Regions from separate parts of the Homo sapiens genome. Here all the other regions are linked to region 4. Evidence: promoter capture Hi-C in 16 types of primary human blood cells and fetal thymus (Javierre and others, 2016). All regions are on one chromosome and are shown on one strand. Each heading gives the region's core, a stretch centred on a gene start or on the middle of the fragment in contact. The rest is flanking DNA. Distances are from core to core; before and after follow the strand shown.

What was found. Contacts are between HindIII fragments. The CHiCAGO score rates a contact against its expected background, and 5 or more counts as called.
Region 1: a contact is called between a fragment that was not itself captured here and the fragment with the promoter of CARNMT1 in region 4, in 1 of 17 cell types (total CD8 T cells). The highest score is 6.7, in total CD8 T cells.
Region 2: a fragment that was not itself captured here is called in contact with the fragment with the promoter of CARNMT1 in region 4 in 1 of 17 cell types (total B cells); the score reaches 7.0 in total B cells.
Region 3: a fragment that was not itself captured here is called in contact with the fragment with the promoter of CARNMT1 in region 4 in 1 of 17 cell types (total CD8 T cells); the score reaches 6.9 in total CD8 T cells.
Region 5: a fragment that was not itself captured here is called in contact with the fragment with the promoter of CARNMT1 in region 4 in 1 of 17 cell types (activated CD4 T cells); the score reaches 5.2 in activated CD4 T cells.

The regions. Positions count from the first base shown.
Region 1 is chr9:76,375,013-76,378,741 of GRCh38, reverse strand. No RefSeq gene overlaps it. Among named protein-coding and RNA genes, the nearest start is that of RFK, 18 kb to the left of the region's middle. RefSeq lists a silencer at 1,162-1,422. The HindIII fragment of the contact is 3,239 bases long and covers 697-3,729 here.
Region 2 is chr9:73,124,191-73,128,135 of GRCh38, reverse strand. No RefSeq gene overlaps it. Among named protein-coding and RNA genes, the nearest start is that of ANXA1, 26 kb to the left of the region's middle. The HindIII fragment of the contact is 7,110 bases long and covers 1-3,945 here.
Region 3 is chr9:76,458,030-76,462,220 of GRCh38, reverse strand. GCNT1 (glucosaminyl (N-acetyl) transferase 1) reads right to left here and starts at 3,039. Exons shown (of 4, transcript NM_001490.5): 1 at 2,916-3,039; 2 at 2,044-2,161. RefSeq lists silencers at 1,655-1,724, 2,715-3,254 and an enhancer at 1,995-2,104. The HindIII fragment of the contact is 6,561 bases long and covers 1-4,191 here.
Region 4 is chr9:75,025,971-75,029,669 of GRCh38, reverse strand. CARNMT1 (carnosine N-methyltransferase 1) reads left to right here and starts at 1,377. Exons shown (of 8, transcript NM_152420.3): 1 at 1,377-1,658. The coding sequence starts at 1,429. RefSeq lists a silencer at 1,156-1,845 and an enhancer at 2,496-2,545. The HindIII fragment of the contact is 4,364 bases long and covers 1-2,908 here.
Region 5 is chr9:76,031,051-76,035,009 of GRCh38, reverse strand. All of the region lies in intron 5 of PCSK5 (proprotein convertase subtilisin/kexin type 5), which reads right to left. Among named protein-coding and RNA genes, the nearest start is that of PCSK5, 140 kb to the right of the region's middle. The HindIII fragment of the contact is 1,268 bases long and covers 1,996-3,263 here.

The sequences.
Region 1 (3,729 bases), core at 1,067-3,566, 1.3 Mb before region 4:
TAGAGATTCAACAGGTGAGAGAGTATATTTTCTCCATTTCATCTACTGAACTGGTAAATTTCAGCAGTTGTAGCAGCAAGAATTTCAACGTGCTTTTCTTTATATCACTTCATTGTTCATCACAATACATCTGAACCATCTAGCTAGATGTCACTGTTACTGCACTTCAGAAGAAACTGAAAGTCAAAGATAAACTGAGACCAACTCAAACGGTGTAGCCAATATACCTCAGAGCTAAGCGTCAAATCTTAGTCTTCAGCTTAGATTCAGAGGGACATAATCTTAGTAGAATCAGGCTTAGCTGCCATGCCCTGGAGTTGTGAACATCTGGGACTCGGGTCCCTGTGAGCTGTGGATGCTGGAGGGTAAGTGAGGACGATCTGCAGGCCCACCAGTACAGCTTCTGTAGGACATGTCAGTTCATCCTTTGCTTGGCTCTTGCCGCTGCTAGCTGGATTGTTTCAGGCACCAGGATAAAGTTAGCAAAGTTGGAGATCAACCTTTTAGCAGAGGCAGCAAAAAGGCAGAAACTTCATAGACACATAAGCCCTAATCAACTTGATACACTGTGGACAGGAACAAAGTCTCTGAGCCTGGAGGAATTGGGATGTAACAAGGATCCAGAACACAGACTGGACCAGAATAGTCAACTAATGTCAGGAGAGAATAAGCTTAAATCTAAGCCCCTGGCAAGCTTCTTGGCCTACCTGTTGTTATTCCTTTGACTCATAGCTATCTTTTGTTCCCTGTAGAGTTTTACCACACCTGGACTCTCCATAGCAAGCTCATGTTCCCTAGTAATCCCCAAACTCTGATTGCTTATCCAGATTCCAAGCCTTGGCTCATTTCTTCCCATTCCCTCCACTTATGCCTACCCATCTGTAAGATGATGCAAATAAGGAGCCCTTCATTTCTTCATACTTTTGGAAGAGGCTGCCCAGGGTAAAATCTTCGTGATAGATGCAAATTGATACACATTCCAAGTCCTAGAAAATCCAGGTCATGCTAAAAGATTGTGAAACCCTTTCTGCCCATAACTAATTTCAATTTATAAGGGAGTGGAGTTGAAGAGGGGAGGGGGGAAGAATTCCTTTGGAGATATCAGTGTGCTCCGCCTATATCCCCTTTAAGTATCAATCAGGGAGCTTGACTTGTGTCCCCCTAGCTTAGGAGGTGGGACATAAGAATTGTATGAGAAGTTGTGGCTGGATTGGCAAGAGAACACAGCAGGAAGAGAGAAGGCAGCACTTTCATCCTCTCTGTAGGGGGTTGAGGGTGGACAAAGATGCATGCTTCCCATGGACCAGGTCTGCAGATATGACTGGAGTCATATTTGCAGAAGATTCCATTCAAGATGGCAGCCTGGAGAGGTAAAGTGACCCAGAAGAGGGACAGATGAAAGACTTCCAGAAGCTCAGGGTCTGAAATGCTTCTTGGAGGCAGTCTGCTAAAGGAGGCATTGGGCATACTACAGACATTGCAATTGAATTGCCCCAAAAGGGAAAGTTCAGAAAGAGAATATGTTTTCATCACAGCAAGCTGAGAGTCAGCCACGTAGGGTTGGGTTCTCTTCCCTAATCTAGAGTTTCTCAAACTATATACTGTGAGATCAAATTAGTGGATTTTGGTCATCTTTTAAAAAATAATAATAAACTAGAAAGCATTGGAAAATATATTGGTTGGATAAATATTGTTTCCTGAAACTTTTGCTTCAGTTTTATAAATAAGTGTTGGTGTAAATTTTATTTTTTACTGTGAATGTGGTCCAAAAAAGTGAAAAGTTCCTGTTTTAATTTGTTCTCCCTGTGCTTGGTTTTGGAGGGATTAGGCAGCTGCAATACGGGAGATCAAGATCAAGGCCTCTGGAGCCAGGCAAGTTATTTTACCTCTTTGTGGTTTAGTGTCTTATCCATAAAACCCGGATAACAATAGTGCCTACCTCATAGGGTTGTTAGGATGATTAAAAGGATGAAACTATCTGATCCATGCAAAGTGCTTCTAATGGTACCTAAAAAACAGTATGTGCTTCACAAATGCCAATTGTTTTTGTGGTGCTGGAGATTTTTTTTTATCATGGCCAAAGATAACAATGTGATTTTAAAGACACAGTAAATTCTTCCCTAAATTATGTGCACAGTCCAGTTTTGTTCAGGTCAAGACAATGATTTCTGTGAGCAAATACATACTCCTTAAATATTTATGGAGTAGCTATTGTATGCTGGCATTCTGCTATGTGCTAGGGGTACAGAGTGGAATAAAATAATATCCCTGACCTTGAAGAACATACAGTCTCCAAAAGAAATTCCAATTTATTTGACTTTATCTTCATCACCCCCATGTGGTGCCTGGCATATTGTAGGTCCCTAGGGAATAGATGTTTGTTTGTTTGTTTGTTTAAGAGACAAGGTCTTGCTCTGTCACCCAGACTGGAGTGCAGTGGTGGGATTGTAGCTCACTACAGCCTCCAACTCCTGAACTCAAGCGATCCTCCCACCTCAGCCTCCCAAGTAGCTGGGACCACAGGTGTGCACCACCATGCTTAGCTAGTTTTTAATTTTTTTGTAAAGATGGGATCTCCCTATGTTACTCAGCTGGTTTCGAATGCCTGGACTCAAGCAATCCTCCCAGCTCAGTCTCCCAAAGTGCTGGGATTACAGGTGTGAGCCACCACACCTGGCCTCTAGAAAATATATATTGAGTGCATTTTGTTGGAAGGAATCATTAGCTCTCTTTACCTCAGCCAGATGCAGTAAATAAGGGAGCCTCTTATCATGTCATCTTTTCTTTTCTTTTCTTTTTTGAGATGGAGTTTATCTCTTGTTGCCCAAGCTGGAGTGCAATGGTGCGATCTCAGCTCACCACAACCTCCGTCTCCCCGGTTCAAGCAATTCTCCTGCCTCAGCCTCCCGAGTAGCTGGGATTACAGGCACACACCACCACGCCCGCCTAATTTTTTGTATTTTTAGTAGAGACGGGGTTTCTCCACGTTGGTCAGGCTGGTCTCAAACTCCCGACCTCAGGTGATCTGCCCACCTTGGCCTTCCAAAGCATGTCATCTTTTCTAGTACATTTGAGATGTGGAGGAAAGAACAGCAGCATCGGAGACTTTTTCTGTAAATGCCAAAGGTTTCCAAAAGTCTACATTTGAAGAAAGATGAATTTGCTCTTGTAGACATCCTCTGGTGTCTCCTTTATACTGTTTATTGAAAAAAGTTTCTAGGGAAGGAAAAAGAAAGGAAACAGATGGCTCCAAATGACAGAGCAGAATCTTACGATTTCTTCTCTCTTTGCTGCTTGGAGCAGCTGAGAAGCCAGCAGGAAAGAAAAGCAGGGATGTTGTGTGTCCTCCTGAATCATTCATCACCTCCTTCCTCCACTCCAGCATTCCCAGTCCCTCAGCTATGTAAACAGAGCTCTGACGTCACAGCCCAGGGAGGTCAGGCAGGGTGAGTAGGGCCAACACTTCCTCCCACACCCTGCTGTTCAAAGCATTGCAGACTTCCAAGCAGGTTGCATGGGAAATTAACCAATTGACAGGGTGGTTTTGTTTTTGTTTTTGTTTTTGTTTTTTTTAGCACAGAGGGAGTAAGAACCAGAGAAGAAATGGAAAAAAAAAAAGGGTGATTTGTGATTTGGGACAATAAAGCCATCCCTAACCTTGCTTTGGAAAGAGTATAGAGCTGTAGGCTGTAGAGTGACAACACTAGTGCGGCCCAGGGTCAGAATGTG
Region 2 (3,945 bases), core at 181-2,680, 1.9 Mb after region 4:
AACCATTTGCAGAACACCTGATTTCTGTCCTCACAATTTTAGCTTTTGCTCCATTAGACATCCTGTTTTTTCCAGAAAAGGAACCTGAAATTGCCACTCATACTTGGTCAATGTAGGCTGCTCTAAAAAGTTTACCCAGGATAGCTTTTATATAATAGAGTATCAACTATGGACCCGGGAAGATCATTTGGATACATCTTGACGTTTCTCCACCTGCTGATAAAAGTGAATGAGTAAATACAGCAGCTGTAGTAGGATGAGGGCAGGGTACCAAGAGCACAGTTCCTTCAAGGCTGAGGAAATGTGTCCCCCACAGAATGATCAATTTAGACCACCAGGTACAACATTAACCGAGGATAAGGAAAGTCTAGGATACTGGAAGAATAAAAAGAACACTTAGTTGATTGATTACTATTAAAGCCTCTGCTTAGTTTAATATATATTAAATTCTGTTTTCTTAACTGCACACACAGGGATTTCCATCACAGTCCTAAAAAACAAAATGCATAGCCAACTTTGAGAATTGTTGTCTATATGTAAGAAAAAAATGCAGTAAACAATCACACAAGTGGCAGAACCTCTTTGCTTCCATAAAGGACTAATAATAAGACCCATATTTTAGTCTACTTTGTTAAATCTGATTGTACATAATTTTATATTTCCAAATCTAATTAATATAATGACTCATTGAATGACATTCTACCATATAGTAAAATGTTAAAGTTGATCTTACTTTTTTCGCTCCTCATCTCTATTGTTTGTATGATTTTTTTTTTTTTTTTTTTGAGACGGCATCTTGCTCCGTCACACATGCTGGAGTGCAGAGGCACGACCTTGGCTCACTGCAACCTCCGCCTGCTGGGTTCAAGCAATTCTCCTGCCTCAGCCTCCCGAGTAGCTGGGATTACAGGTGCATGCCACCACGCCTGGCTAATTTTTGTATTTTTAGTACAGACTGGGTTTCATCATGTTGGCCAGGCTGGTCTCGAACTCCTGACCTCGTGATCCACCTGCCTTGACCTCCCAAAGTGCTGGGATTACAGGCGTGAGCCACTGTATCCGGCCTGTTTGTATGGTTGTTATCTTTACCTGGGATTATAATTTTACATATTCATTGCCTGCAAAAGATATTTACTATGAATCTTTAACTCCAAAATTAATATACCTAACATCTTTCTTATTATCTAAAAAAATTACAAGAATGATGATCCAGCTTTCAAACTTTTAAGAACAAAACATAGAGATGCAGTTCTTAATAGAAAGAGATACAAAATGGTAAATGTGGTATAGTATTTTTTATTCAAATTAGGAATATTTTATATAAATATATACAAAAATTAGGTGATTATATTTTTATTCTGTCAAATATAAGAATTGATGTGAAATCATTTAGTACTATTTTTAATAATAGAAATTGAAAATGTTGCATGTTACTTTATAAGTGACATGAGAAATTAATGTAAAAGGGGCTTTGGGTTATCTTCAAGAATGAATTTATGTGGGGACATTGTTTATACCCATACAATAGAAAATATCCCAAACACAATTCAACTTTTAATAGAATAATCTTCAACACCTTTCCGGAGCTAAAATAAACTTTTAAATAAATATTGCATGGACATTATATTTTGTATGGGAAACTATTTTTATGTTAGTTTCACAAATGCTTTATTCACAACCAGTGTGAATTAACTTTTAAATCTACAAATTAAAACATCAAAATCTCATGTTATAATACAATAAAGAGACAATTTTATTCCCAGGAAACAAAACTGAGTTAGTATTTAAATCCTAGAAACTAAATATAGACAAAAATATTAACTTTCCAATTCAGCCAATCTCCAATTAACACATATAGGAAAAAGAGTGGGGGGAAGCGGAGGGAGAGCATTAGGACAAATATCTAATGCATGCAGGGCTTAAAAACTAGATGATGGGTTGATAGGTGCAGCAAACCACCATGGCATACGTATACCTATGTAACGAACCTGCACGTTCAGCACATGTATCCTAGAAATTAAAGTAAAATTTTTTTAAAAATCTTAAAACACAATAACTTCATGCTTACAGAACATAGGCTTATTGTGAGGAAAAAAACCCAAAAGTCCATAACTGTTACAAAGTTGGACAAGGTGTGAACTGAAAAGGCAAACATTTGGTGAGCACACAAATCAGCATATATTCTAATATTGTAATATTATCTCATTTAAACCTGTTCTTACTCATGTGTGTGTCATCCTAGTTTTCTCTGACTTACAGCACCTCACCCTTATTCCTCATCCATCCAAGTCTCTGAGTGTCTCCAGAGAAGCTGCAGTATTCAGTGGCTGAGAATAGTGATTCAGAGGTCATACTACTTGCCTTCATTTATCTATGCAACCATATTGATTTAGCCAGGAAATGTTTTAGGTACTGAAAATATAGGAGTGAAAAACAGTCCATACACAGTTAATCCTTGAACAGCATGGGTTTGAACTGCATACGGCCACTTAATACATTAATTTTTTTTCAGTAAAAGTTACATCAAGTGTGCCTGCCTCTCCTGCCTCCCCTTCTACCTGTCTACCTCTTTCTCTGCCACCCCTGAGACAGCAACACTAACCCTTCTTGTTCCTTCTCCTCCTTAGTCTACTCAACCTAAGGATGAGAAGGATGAAGGCCTTTATGATGCTGCACTTCCATTGAGAAGAAATATGTCTTCTCTTCCTTATGATTTTCTTAATAACATTTTTTCTAGCTTACTTTATTGTAAAAATTCAGTATATATACATATAACATACAAACATGTGTCAATCAACAGTTTATGTTATTGGAAAGGCTTCCAGTTAACAGCAGGCTATTTAGCAGTTAGGTTTTTGGAGAGTTAAAAGTTCTACTCAGATTTCTGACTATACAAAGGGTTGGCACTCCGAACCCACATGCTGTTCAAGGGTCAACTGTACCTGTCTTCATTAAGGTGGTTTTTTTATGGTGTAATATACATAAATAAATTGAAAGATCCATAAATAAGTAAATAATTATCTTAAATTTCTGAATCTTTTACTTACTGTACAACCTTGAGTATGCTATTTAGCTAACTAATCTTCAGAATATTTTTTAACCTGTAAAATTGAGATGCTAATATTGAATACAGTTAAGTATATAATATGAATATATATTTGTGAGTGTGTGTGTGTGTGTGTGTGTGTGTATATATATATATAGTCTTTATCCATTTTATGTTGCTGTAATAGAATACCCACAAACCAGGTAATTTATAATGAACAGAATTTGTTTGGTTCATAGTTCTGGAGGCTGGAAAGTCAAGAGCAAGGTGCCAGGATCTGGTGAGGGCTCTCATGCTGCATCATCCCATGGTGGAAGGCGGAAGTGCAAGAGAGCATGAGAGCAAGCAAGAGAGAACCAAACTGGCTTTTATAAATTCCCACTGTTGCAATAATGAGCCCACTCCTGCAATAACGACATTAATTCATTCATGGGGTGGAGCCATCCTGACTTAATCACCTCATAACAGTTCTACCTCTTAATACTGTCACAATGGCAATTAAATGGCAACATGAGTTTCAGAAGAGGCATTCAAATCATTGCCATACACACACACATACACACACACACACTATATATATATATACGTATATATACATATATGTGTGTATATATACGTATATATACATATATGTGTGTATATATACGCATATATACATATATGTGTGTATATATACGCATATATACATATGTGTGTATATATACGCATATATACATATGTGTGTGTATATACGCATATATACATATGTGTGTGTATATACGCATATATACATATGTGTGTGTATATACGCATATATACATATGTGTGTGTGTATATACGTATATATACATATGTGTGTGTATATACGTATATATACATATGTGTGTATATATACGTATATATACATATATGTGTGTATA
Region 3 (4,191 bases), core at 1,585-4,084, 1.4 Mb before region 4:
CCATGAATACATTTCTCATTAGAATAAATAAAAATAGTGACAAGAGTCCTTGGTTGGCTCTATAAAAAAAAAAAAAATACAGTATAGCTGAAATACCACACACTTCATAGAAAACAGAATTTGACAGTCAGAAGGGATCATTTCCAGTAGTAATTTCTGTTTTCTACCACTTCATTTCATGAAAAATGTACAATATCTACATCACAGTTCAGAATTTTCCATTCATCGGAGAATATAATCACCGTGTACAGTAGCAGTTTTTAAGGCAGAGTTTTGCAAACAGATGATGCATGAAACAAATTTGATTTTATTCTTTGTGGGATTTTTGTTTTGAGACGGAGCTTCACTCTGTCGTCCAGGCTTGAGTGCAGTGGCACGATCCCTGCTCATCCTAACCTCCGCCTCCCGGGTTCAAGCAATTATCCTGCCTCAGCCTCCTGAGTAGCTAGGATTACAGGTGCCCACCACCACACCTGGCTAATTTTTGAATATTTTTGTAGAGATGGGGTTTTGCCATGTTGGTCAGGCTGGTCTTGAACTCCTGACCTCAAGTGATCCACCTGCCTCAGCCTCCCAAAATGTTGGGATTACAGGTGTGAGCCACCATGCCCAGGCTCTTTGTGTGTGTTTTTTTTTTTGAGACAGACTCTCGCTCTGTCACCCAGGCTGGAGTGCAGTGGTGCAATCTCGGCTCACTGCAACCTCCGCCTCCCGGGTTCAAGCAATTCTCCGTCTCAGCCTCCCGAGTAGCTGGGATTACAGGCGCCTAGCCACCACGCCCAGCTAATTTTTGAATTTTTAGTAGAGACACCATCTTGGCCAGGCTGGTCTTGAACTCCTGACCTCGTGATCCACCCGCCTGGGCCTCCCAAAGTGCCGGGATTACAGGTGTGAGCCACTGCGCCCGGCCCTCTTTGTGTTCTAAAAAGGAAAAAATATGAGCCAATATTTAAAATCAGGCTTTACATTTTTTATTTTTAAGTAAAAGTTCTCAGCTATTCGTGGAAAAAAAAAAAAAAAAAAAAAGCTGCCTACACTGTATGGCTGAATGGGAATTCCTGCATGGATACTCGGTGGAAATGGCCAATATCCACCCAGCCTTAGCAGGTTCCTCTGCAGTCACCTGGGCCCAACCAAGCACTCTTGTGCATTACCTGTTTAGTCCATGTGGATAAAGTGGATTTTGTGATCCCAGTTTTAGGGAAAAACGTTTTTCTTACTGTTAAGCAATTCAATTACAAACGGAAAAGGAGTAACTCCTTAAAAAGTGAGTGGAAGCATTGCTATCATTAATCAAGAATGAACTATAATTAATGAAGGATAGAATCTAGTACAAACTTGGGGCCAAGGCTAAGGAGATCCTTTACAGGGCCAAGTTGAAGGACGGGCAGAGGAGGTGGCAGTGACCGTCAAACCCTCATCATGAAATGGAAAAAATATCAACCTCTCGGCCAATAAAACTTTTTAAAAGTAAATTCATAGTTTGGTATATTGTATTTTAAAATAAAGGAGTTTGCCATTTCTAAGAAATCAGTTTCCCAAAACTACCATTTTAAGGGCCCGAAAAAAATTCCTTTAAGAAAAAGCAGGTATCTACACAGTCTGAGTTTTCCTCCCTGCTAGAACTGAAATCTGTTACGAAAGCCTCCAGCAGGGGGGCCTGCCTGGAATTGCCTAAGCTCCTAGCAGGTAATTTACACTGATCTTTAAAAACTACTAAGCCCTCCTCCTCCCCTCTATAAAACAAACCGGCCTTTCAGAACAGCTCTGGAAGGGGGGCAGAATGCCAGACGAAGAGACAACTTCCAGACCACGTCTCTCACCTCCCACCCATCAAATTCAGCCCACAAAAAGCTGTGGCCGCATTCTCATCTCAAGGCACCACGGCTTTCTTTGAACACCATATATCTTCCCAATTGGCCTCTTGCCCCATTATGTGTAAAAAACCGACTCTCTTTTCTGCAGAAAGAAATAACAAGGCAAAGGGTGTACAGGGCAACGTTTATATGCATCTACAGCATGCCAGGTGCCTACAGAACCTACCTCGGCCTAGGCGGTCCGTGCCCTAGCCGGGATCTGCAGGCGCCCTCATCCACGCTGGGAGACGGGAAGAGGAGAGGGAGGCGTGACAGGCGAGGGTGCCTGTGCTGCGCAGAAAGCGCTGCCAGGAGAAAAGAAGCAGTGAGCAAGGGCTTCTTCCATTTCAAAAACCTAATAACCAAAACTTGGAGGAATCTGCCTGAGATACTTAAAAAAAAGAGGAAAGAGAAACCTAGGAGGGGGTAAAATGCTTTTAAGACGAATCACTTGTTTTCGTAATAGACCCTGCGCGCGAGTTTCCTAGACTGCCGCGAGAAGAAGGAAAGCGAGGGAGCAGGAAAGGAGAGGCTTCGGAGCCCCTAAACTAACGTCTCTTTTCTTATTAGTAATAGTTTGCTCCAGGGTGAGTCATTTATTATCCTAGCGTTGGCCTCTTTATCAGTAAAGTAGGGGTGAAAATGCATCTTAGCCGGGCTGGCGTTAGGATTCAATGAAGTTAAATGAAGTTAAGCCCCTGGCACCCATGGGATGGCAGCGAGTCTGTTCGTTCCCTGCCTATCCACGCCCGCAGCCAACCCCTCCGACATCTAAGCTACACGGACCAGGGGCAAGAGGCCAGAAAGTGACTTTCAGGGGACACGGGGCACCGGCGTCCCAGCCCCACTGAGCGGACGGAAAATGAAGGTGGAAGGAAGAGGCGCCGCTCCATTCCGGTCCCGGGCGCACCCCGGTTCTGCTTCCTCCTCCGCGGGGGAGCCCAGCCCGCCCGGGGCCACGGGGCACTGGCTGAGAGCCGGCTCCCTCCCACCCATCCTTCTCAGCCTTCCCCCACCGCCGGGCGGCCGAGCAGGGGAACACGAGGGAGAGCCGGTTACCTGGAGTGGGCGTCTGACCCCGGAGTCTCAGGAGGATGCCCAGCCGCTCCTGCTCCACCAAGCTCCCGCCCCGCGCCGCGCTCTAGGCGCTCCGGAGCTGCGCCTGCAGCCCTCACACCAGCGTGGCCCGCCCCGGGGCCGCCCCCAGAGGCCCCGCCTTTCTAGGCCCCGCCCACCACGTCCCCGCCTCGCCCACCTGCGCGAGCTCGGGGCTGGGGACTTGCTGCGGACTCGCGGTTCCCGCCTACAGGCGAGGGCGCCCTCTGGGCACTGACGTGGTCTGGGAGTAGCGCTGCGATCCTAGTGCTTCCTCGCTCCTCTTCCTCACTGTGCTCTGATTCTTAAGAGGTGTGTGAGCGGCGTCTTTTTAAACATTTTATGCCTCCCTTCCTCGAAAGCAGGAAACTCGAGAAATGCTGCCTTTTCTGATTTTAAACATGAAAATATGTTACAGAACAACAATAAAATTAAATTCCAAGGTTCTCGATATGTAAAGTTTAGAGATAACCATGTAGGTGTTTTTTTCTCTCCCCTAACGAACCTTGCTTCCTAAATTTAGCATTTAAGAACTCATTACATTCATGTGTATTTCCACATAAAAATTAAGATCAAATTAAACTGTGGAACAATCCACAGTGCTGTGGAAAGTAGGAAAAAACCTTCCCCGCCCTTATAGCACAGATCTTTGTGTCAGTTATAAAAGTTGACACAGTTCTCTTTGTAACAAGGGGAATATTGTGTCTGTGTCTTCTTTCGTTGGATTTTTAGCTCCTAGAAAACAGAACGAGGTCTTATTTGTTTCCATGTTGTTTAAAAAAAATTCTGGCCGGGCGCGGTGGCTCACGCCTGTAATCCCAGCACTTTGGGAGGCCGAGGCGGGCGGATCACCAGGTCAGGAGATCGAGACCATCCTGGCTAACATGGTGAAACCGCGTCTCTACTAAATATACAAAAAATTAGCCAGGCGTGGTGGCGGGCGCCTGTAGTCCCAGCTACTCGGGAGGCTGAGTCAGGAGAATGGCGTGAACCCGGGAGGCGGAGCTTGCAGTGAGCCGAGATCGTGTCACTGCACTCCAGCCTGGGCAACAGAGCGAGACTCCATCTCAAAAAAAAAAAAAAAAAAAAAAAAATCCAACTCAGAGGCCATTAGACTGTGATATGTTTGACACTTGCCTGATTTGTCAACAAAAATTAACATAAGATGATGGTATAGAGGAAGAAAGACTTCCCCTCTACTCTCTGAGGCTTGGATAACTAAGTCTATGAAATAAATTGA
Region 4 (3,699 bases), core at 128-2,627:
TTGCTGGGTGGTGGATTAAATTGAACAGAATAAGTTATTTCTTTTTCTTTTCTTTTTTTTTTTTTTTTGAGACGCTGTCTCGCTCTGTCGCCCAGGCTGGATGGCACGATCTCGGCTCACTGCAAGCTCCGCCTCCCGGGTTCACGCCATTCTCCTGCCTCAGTCTCCAGAGCAGCTGCGACTACAGGCGCCAGCCACCAAGCCCGGCTAATTTTTTGTGTTTTTAGTAGAGACGGGGTTTCACCATGTAAGCCAGGATGGTCTTGATCTCCTGACCTCGTCATCCGCCCACCTAGGCCTTCCAAAGTGCTGGGATTACAAGCGTGATTCACCGCGCCCGGCCCCAGAATAAGTTATTTCCCAAGAGCCACCCTTAGATGCTGGTAGGTGTAATGGTCTTCCCAAGACCAGGTGCTGGATAGAAGGTCCTTGCATTTTCCTCATCTGTTGCCATCCTCAGTAAAGGAGGAATTAGGACTGCCGCAAGCCCCTAAAGACTGGAAAGATGGGACGGGCGCGATGGCTCACGCCTGTAATCCCAGCAATTTGGGAGGCCGAGGAGGGTGGATCGCCTGAGGCCAGGAATTCCAGACCAGCCTGGCCAACATGGTGAAACCCCATCTCTACTAAAAATACTAAAATTAGCCGGGCGTGGTGGCGCGCGCCTGTAATCCCAGCCACTCGGGAGGCAGAAGCAGGAGAATCGCTTGAACCCAGGAAGCAGAGGTTGCAATGAGCCGAGATCGCACCACTGCACTCCAGCCTGGGCGACAGAGTGGGGAAAAAAAAAAAAGTGAAAAGATGATGGCGCCCACTTCCGACCCCCTTAAGTAATTAAAAATAGGAATTCATTTAGGAAGTGAATTAAAACTTAAATTAGGGTGGATACAAGACGTTCCTTCTAGACTTTCTGAAATAAAAATTCCGAATAAAATCATCAAAGCCGAACTTTTCCTTTTTGCCTTTCCCTTCTTTGCTAGTGCCTGGGACCGCGTTCAGCCTCCAGCTCAACAATCCGGCACTCGCCGGCTTTTAAGTCCCACCCACGCGGCCGCGCACAGGTAACGGCAGTGCCAGTCCCACCCCACCTACGAGCTCCTCCTCCGCCTCCCACCAAGGGGCCTTGGCCCCGCCCTTGGAAGCGTGGTTGTGACGTCAGCGCGCTGTCTCCGAAGCCCGGCAGCAAATGAGCGCAGACCGCACGGGCCCTCCGCGTACCAAGGCACACGCATGCGCATTGGTTCTGGGAGCCCTGAAGACCTGGCGGAGCCCAGCGCGGATGGAGGCCTGAGGGTGGCGGGGGCGGAGCGCGCCGCGAGCTGGGGGCATGTCCGCGGCGGGCGCCGTCTAGAGGAAGGCCAAGCAGCCGCCACCACGCTGTCGGTCGCGGAGAGACGCAAGCGAGCCAGGCCGAGGGCCGCGGCGGCGATGCAGCGACGGCGTCGCCCTCCGCCGCCCACCTCCCGGCTGCCCGAGGGCTGCGGGGGAGGAGGCGGTGGCAGCGAGGAGGTGGAAGTGCAGTTTTCCGCCGGGCGTTGGGGCTCGGCCGCGGCGGTTTCGGCGGCAGCGGCGGCGGCCACGCGCAGCACCGAGGAGGAGGAGGAGAGGCTTGAGCGTGAGCACTTCTGGAAGATCATTAATGCCTTCCGCTACTACGGGTAAGGAGCCCGTGGCGGACCCCGGCCCAGACCGTCGGGGCGCCCACTGGTGGCGGCGGACCCGCCGGAACGGGGGCGCTCGCCGTCCCGCCGCCACGCCTCCGAGGCGTCGGGACCCGGCTGCTGCAGCTGACCTCCGGGCCCCGAGTCACCTCGCACCACCCCAGCCCCTCCCGGCCCTGCACACCCGCGTGTCCGCCGCGCCGTCTGCTGCACAGCCTCGTGTCTTCTGACCTCAGGATCAGATTAGCTCTCCTGCCTCCGTCCTCGTAAAGGTTTGGCTTTGAGGCCGATGGGGGTGACCAGAGAAGCGCTGTAACAATTTCAGATAGAAGACGATGGTGGTACAATCGTCCACTGCTGGGCTGATTGGTGTGTGTGGTCGATGTCCTCCAAACTGAACACACGGAGAGCCCAAGTTCACCTACGCGTGGGATGCTGTAGGACGTATTTTCCCAAACTGTTACCAGTGCTTGTAAGAGCAGTTTAAGATTTCCACCCACCCCTCTTTGGCGCTGTGAACGCACTTGCACTTTTGTGTGAGCGATTGAATGATGCTGCTCAGTGTCTTTAACTGGTGGGTGATTAAGGGCGGAAGTGGTCCGGATATTCTAAAATTTGCTAATTATTAGGAGAGATGAGAGAAGTCACAATAAGAGCTGCCTTTACGTTCTTTTTTTCTGCAAATCTGTATCTAATTCTCCCTGGTGTGCTAGGCACTGTGGTAGGACCTTTATGCTCCTCATTCATAAAAACAGCTCCCTAACTTCCACGTTTCTTCTAGATAGATGTTAAAGTAGCTTAATCACAAAATTATAATTCCAAGAGCTGAAAGGGACTTAAATCAACTGGATTTTCAGGTGAAGATAACACTTTTATTCACGTAAGAGATATGAGTCCACCGGTGACTATGTTCTGAGGCTGCAGTTGGAATCAGACAGACATGACCTCCTACGCAGGTAAACCTGTTCCCATAGGTGGGTTCCTGCTGTGCTTTATGCAAAGTTTTTTTATATTGTTCATCTTATGTATTATAGTTGTTTTTATAAATCTCTTGCTTTGCTGTGACCTCCTCAAGGGCAGGGGCTGAGTCTTTTTTATTTTTATGTCACTAGTGCTTGGCATATGTTGTTTAAGCTCTATTTTTAACAAAACAAATAGTAGCAAAGAAATACATTTCTCATTCCCAAATAGTCTGTCAAGTTTTTGACTGATAGTTAAATTAGTTTACTAGTCTGAATTTAGAAGCTTGCTTAGTGAAAGCTTAAAGTTATTTGGAATCTGATTGTATATGTGATAGGAACTTTTGAACTTCGAAGATCTTGATGAAATAATTTACTGATTAAACCCAGAAATAGGGACCAGGGACAGCATTACTTTACGGAGCCCAAAAGAGAAGTTTGGATATTTTATTTCTCCAGGTTTAGTAGTAACAGAGGGAGCAAGGCGTCAGACCATCAGAGAATTGAATTTGATGCAGGAATTGTGACGGAAAGAACCATAAAGTTAGGAAAGGCAGCTAACATCAGATAGCTAAGAGTGGGAGATACAGAAAAGTCTGGTACATTTTGCTCTTGAAAAATCTAGAAAGAATATTGGGAAATGTCTTGGGAATATGGTGGACCCATTTAGTTAAGTGCGTAGTTGTACTTACTTTTAATATATTAGGACCAATTTAAAATTGATATTTATGGGTAAGTATGGGATGGGACTTTGTTGGGGTAGGGGTTGATCAGGAACTGAAGTGTGGCAATATAGAGAAGAGATCTTGTGTGAATATTCTAGTGGTTGTGATACTATTTCCTATACTCTCTTCTTTACCAGCGTAATGTTGGATTCAGGACATTTCATTTTTTAAAAAAAACAGTTTTTATTTGTATATACTCTCTTGAAACACTTCAAATACTTGGGCTGAAAATAGTATAACATCAAAAATATGCTTTTTAAAATGTCACTTAAAGCCTAGGGGTACAGAAAGTTTATGTAGCAGAGAACAGTGGATTGTTACATTCTAATATTTTGTGATCTTCTAGACTTAAAC
Region 5 (3,959 bases), core at 1,380-3,879, 1.0 Mb before region 4:
GTCAGCCTTCTGGGATACAGAGCAGAAATGGAAGGTCAGAAAAAAAGATATCTAGCACAAAGGCCCACTGTATATAACACCATTTAATCGGTCAGCAACTTCAATTCGGACACATTTTGCTCACTCATCTAGATGAACCAATCAAGGTCAGTACTCTTGTAATTATTCTAAGAAAGAACAAATGGATATTTTATATCCCGAACTAAACTGAAAATCAACTTAGTATATGTTCTTGCCTTTCTATTTCCTACTCTGGCAAATGTGACCCCATCTAGGATTTTAAAAAAGTTTTATAAAAGAATTAATAAGTTCACAGGTGCTGTGAAACTGATTGGAGGGATAACCAGCTCATACCATGCGGGATGAGAGAAGGCATCACTAGAAAGTGACATGCGTGGGAGGTGAAGGAGGAATTCTCCAAGTGTAGATGGTGGAAGGGTGAACAGTTGGAGCACATTAGAGGAATGACACAAATCCTGACGAATGGAGGAGGAGGAAGAAGAGGAGGGGATACATAGAGTAGAATAGACTCGATAATAAGGAAGGGAATGGGTCCTGAAGAGTCTTGTATTTTTAACATATGTCAAGATAGTAAAGGATTTTAATGTTCTTATTTTGGTTCAGAAATATCACTCAGGGAGCAGGATAGGGGAAGACCAGAAACAAGGAAACGATTTAATAAGACTCTTAACAAGGGTATAGGTAAGAGAAGGGGAATAAACATAGTGGCTACTGTGGGTGGCTGGGGGTTTGTGTCTAAGGCTTTTGAGAGCTACTACAGAGGAGGAATTAATTGGTATGAATTGTCAGGACTTGCTGACTAACAGTTGTTGAGATGAAGGGGAAGGGATGGCTGGCTTCTGGGGTGAAAGAAGGCTTTTCCTATTACACCGCAATTTTCCGTGGGAGGCCACTTCCCAGAACCTACACAATGATCAAAGATGTTACTTACTTCAGTGTAATGCATCGTGAACCTGTATGTATAGAAATGAATTTTCTAAAATATTTGCTGTAGGTTCTTTCATGAATATAAAATCTATGGCTGTTACTATGATCTGAATGTTTGTGTCCCTCCAAAATTCATGTGTCAAACTCTAATCCCTAACATGTTGGTGTTAAGAGGTGGGGCTTTGGGCGGTGGTGACTAGGTTGTGAAGGTGGAGCCCTAGTGAATGGGATTAGTGCCCTTTTAAAGAGGCCTGAGGGGCTTGTTTGTCCCTTCTACCATGTGAGGACACAGCAAGAAGGCACCATCTCATGAGGATTGAGCCCCCAGCAGACAACAAAATGGCTGGTGCCTCGATCCCAGGTTCCAGAACTGAGCATTACATTTCTATTACTTATAAATTACCCAGTCTAAGTTATTTTGTGATAGCAGCCTGAACTAAGACAGCTGTATATGGAAAGTGTCAGATTTTTTTTTTTTCCACAATTGCATGTTTGGTATACATTAAGCCTCTAGTAATGTACATGTACACTTGTAGTCCACGTTATGTAAATTCATTTGATAATCATTGATCAAGTATCTACTATGTAGTATACTGTAGATGTTATTTTGCAAAAGTATTAGAGAAAAAAATTTGAAAATATTTGAAAATCAAATCAGCCTCTGATATTGACCCTCATTTTCTTCGTTAAGTTTTGTCTGACCTACTAAGCTATAGGAAAACTTTATCTTAACATATTTGGCCAAATCCTTGGTACAAAGAAAAAATGTTTGTACGTGTTAAGGCCACAGACTTACAGTGTGTTTTTTTCCTCTAGTACTATTATAATAAGTTAACATATTTCCCCTATATGCGGAAAATGCTGACTATATCTTTTGGTTGCTTTGGAACACTATCTCCTCACAACAGTCCTTGTCTACAGAAATGGGAAAGGGAAGGACACATTTTGGTTTCTGCAACATGGCAACATTCGTAAAACCAGAAATGATGTGTGACAAGAAACTAAAGAACTAGACGAAATTCACTTCCATTCACCCTGGTTAAAGCTTCCTTGAATCAGAGATAAGAAACAACATGAAAAATCTATTCCTTTTAGAAAACAAGTCTTTAACCCAGAGGTTGGTTTATTTTGAAAAGGAATTAGACTCTGGGCCCACATACCGCTCGTTCAAAATATAATGCTGTGGTTTCAACTCCTGCTAAATGTTGCTGTGACTTTTAAGCAGAGAACTTCTAAAAGGAAGTAACCTAGGGAGGGGCTGATATAACTCAGACATCAATAATTCATTTTATTGGAAATAGGAGTAGTAGTATGAAATGCTAGCAGACTGTTTCATTTGCAGGGAGGCATTTTCTATTTTAAGCCTAGAACAATGCAGTCAGCTTTATTTGGCAAGCTAATATGAATGGAGGCAAAGCTGAATCGAAGGATGGGTTTTTATGATCTCCTCTAATCACGCTATTTCTTTAGCATCAGTTATTTAAGTCTGACATACCACCATTTGGGAACTTGCAAAAGTGACGAGAAAGGGATTTTTATAACTTTTGTACTTCAGAGGTGATTTCCTTCACTCCAAAGCCTTGGCACTAGAAATGTAATCATGCAAGTCTAAGAGATGATTTGCATAGTTTTGAGGCTAGATCCTCTGTTAGTACTAAAAACCCTTCAGGCATTAGAGTTTCTTACTAAATTTTCTCCCAATTCAGCCCATTAATAATCTATACTATTTCATCATTGATTCCCCAGGTATTTAGCACAGAGCCACTCGCCAAGCAGCGTCTTAATGAATACTGCTTGAATGAATAAACAAACGCAGGCAAGTATGACATAATTCCAAATATGTTCTGAAGCCTACTGGTCTGATTGTTCAGTGAGGAGGCATTTGCATAGCACATGCCTCAACTTCCTTATTCTGATGATAATTACAAATTCCTCACCTTCACTATTTTATATCAAATTCAAGGACTCATGCTCTACTAAGGGAGATGGGAAAATGGAATTAAAGAAAAGCAGATTTACTGTAGACGGAAAAGAGCCACAGCTCCCAGCCCCAAGGAAGCAGACAAACCTATCTCAACTTCTAACCCTGGAAATAAACCTTAAGTCCCCCAAGGACGCAGACAAACCTATCTCAACTTCTAACTCCGGAAATAAACCCCAAGTCTTAATTTAAATTTGAAGTGTTCATAGGCACACATATTTTGAGATAACTGTAATTTTTAACTAGTTATTTATCAAGAATTAGATATATGAATAGAACACACAATTATAATAATAACAACTGTAATTATGTAGCATCTATTATGTAGTAAGCTTGGTATTTTACACATTTTATTGATAATCTTTAGAGGTATTTTATTATTATTATTTTTTGAGACAGGGTCTCGCTCTTTCGCCCAGGCTGGAGTGCAGTGGCACAATCTTGGCTCACTGCAACCTTGACCTCCTAGGCTAAAGCAATCCTTCTATCTCAGCCTCCCAAGTTTCTGGGACCACAGGTGCATGCCACCACACCTGGCTATTTATTTATGTATTTAGTAGAAACAGGGTCTCCCTATGTTTCCCAGGCTGGTCTCAATCTCCTGGACTCAAGTGATCCTCCAGCCTTGGCCTCCCAAAGTACTGGGATACAGGTGTGAGTCACTGTGCCCAGCCTAGAGGGAAGTATTATTATGCCCATTCTAGAGACTTTTTAGAAAGTACTGAAAGCTCAGTTGTTAGCTCAAAAGACCATAAAGATAATCAAGGAGAGCCAAGGCTAAAAGTCAACTTCTCTAAACTACAAAGCTACTCATTTCCTAACTCTAGGTGGCCACTATCCAAACAGAGTTATCTATCTGTGGATTCATGCTTAAAGATAGATCCATTGATCATATCCATTATTATGGTCTAATGAGCAAAGAGGGCATTTTAATCCTAAATGCCTGACTACATGCTCTTGGTCAGCTGAGAAAAAAAATCAGGCAGAACTACTGAGAGGAGCTAAAGGTAAATCTATACCCTCGGCACTG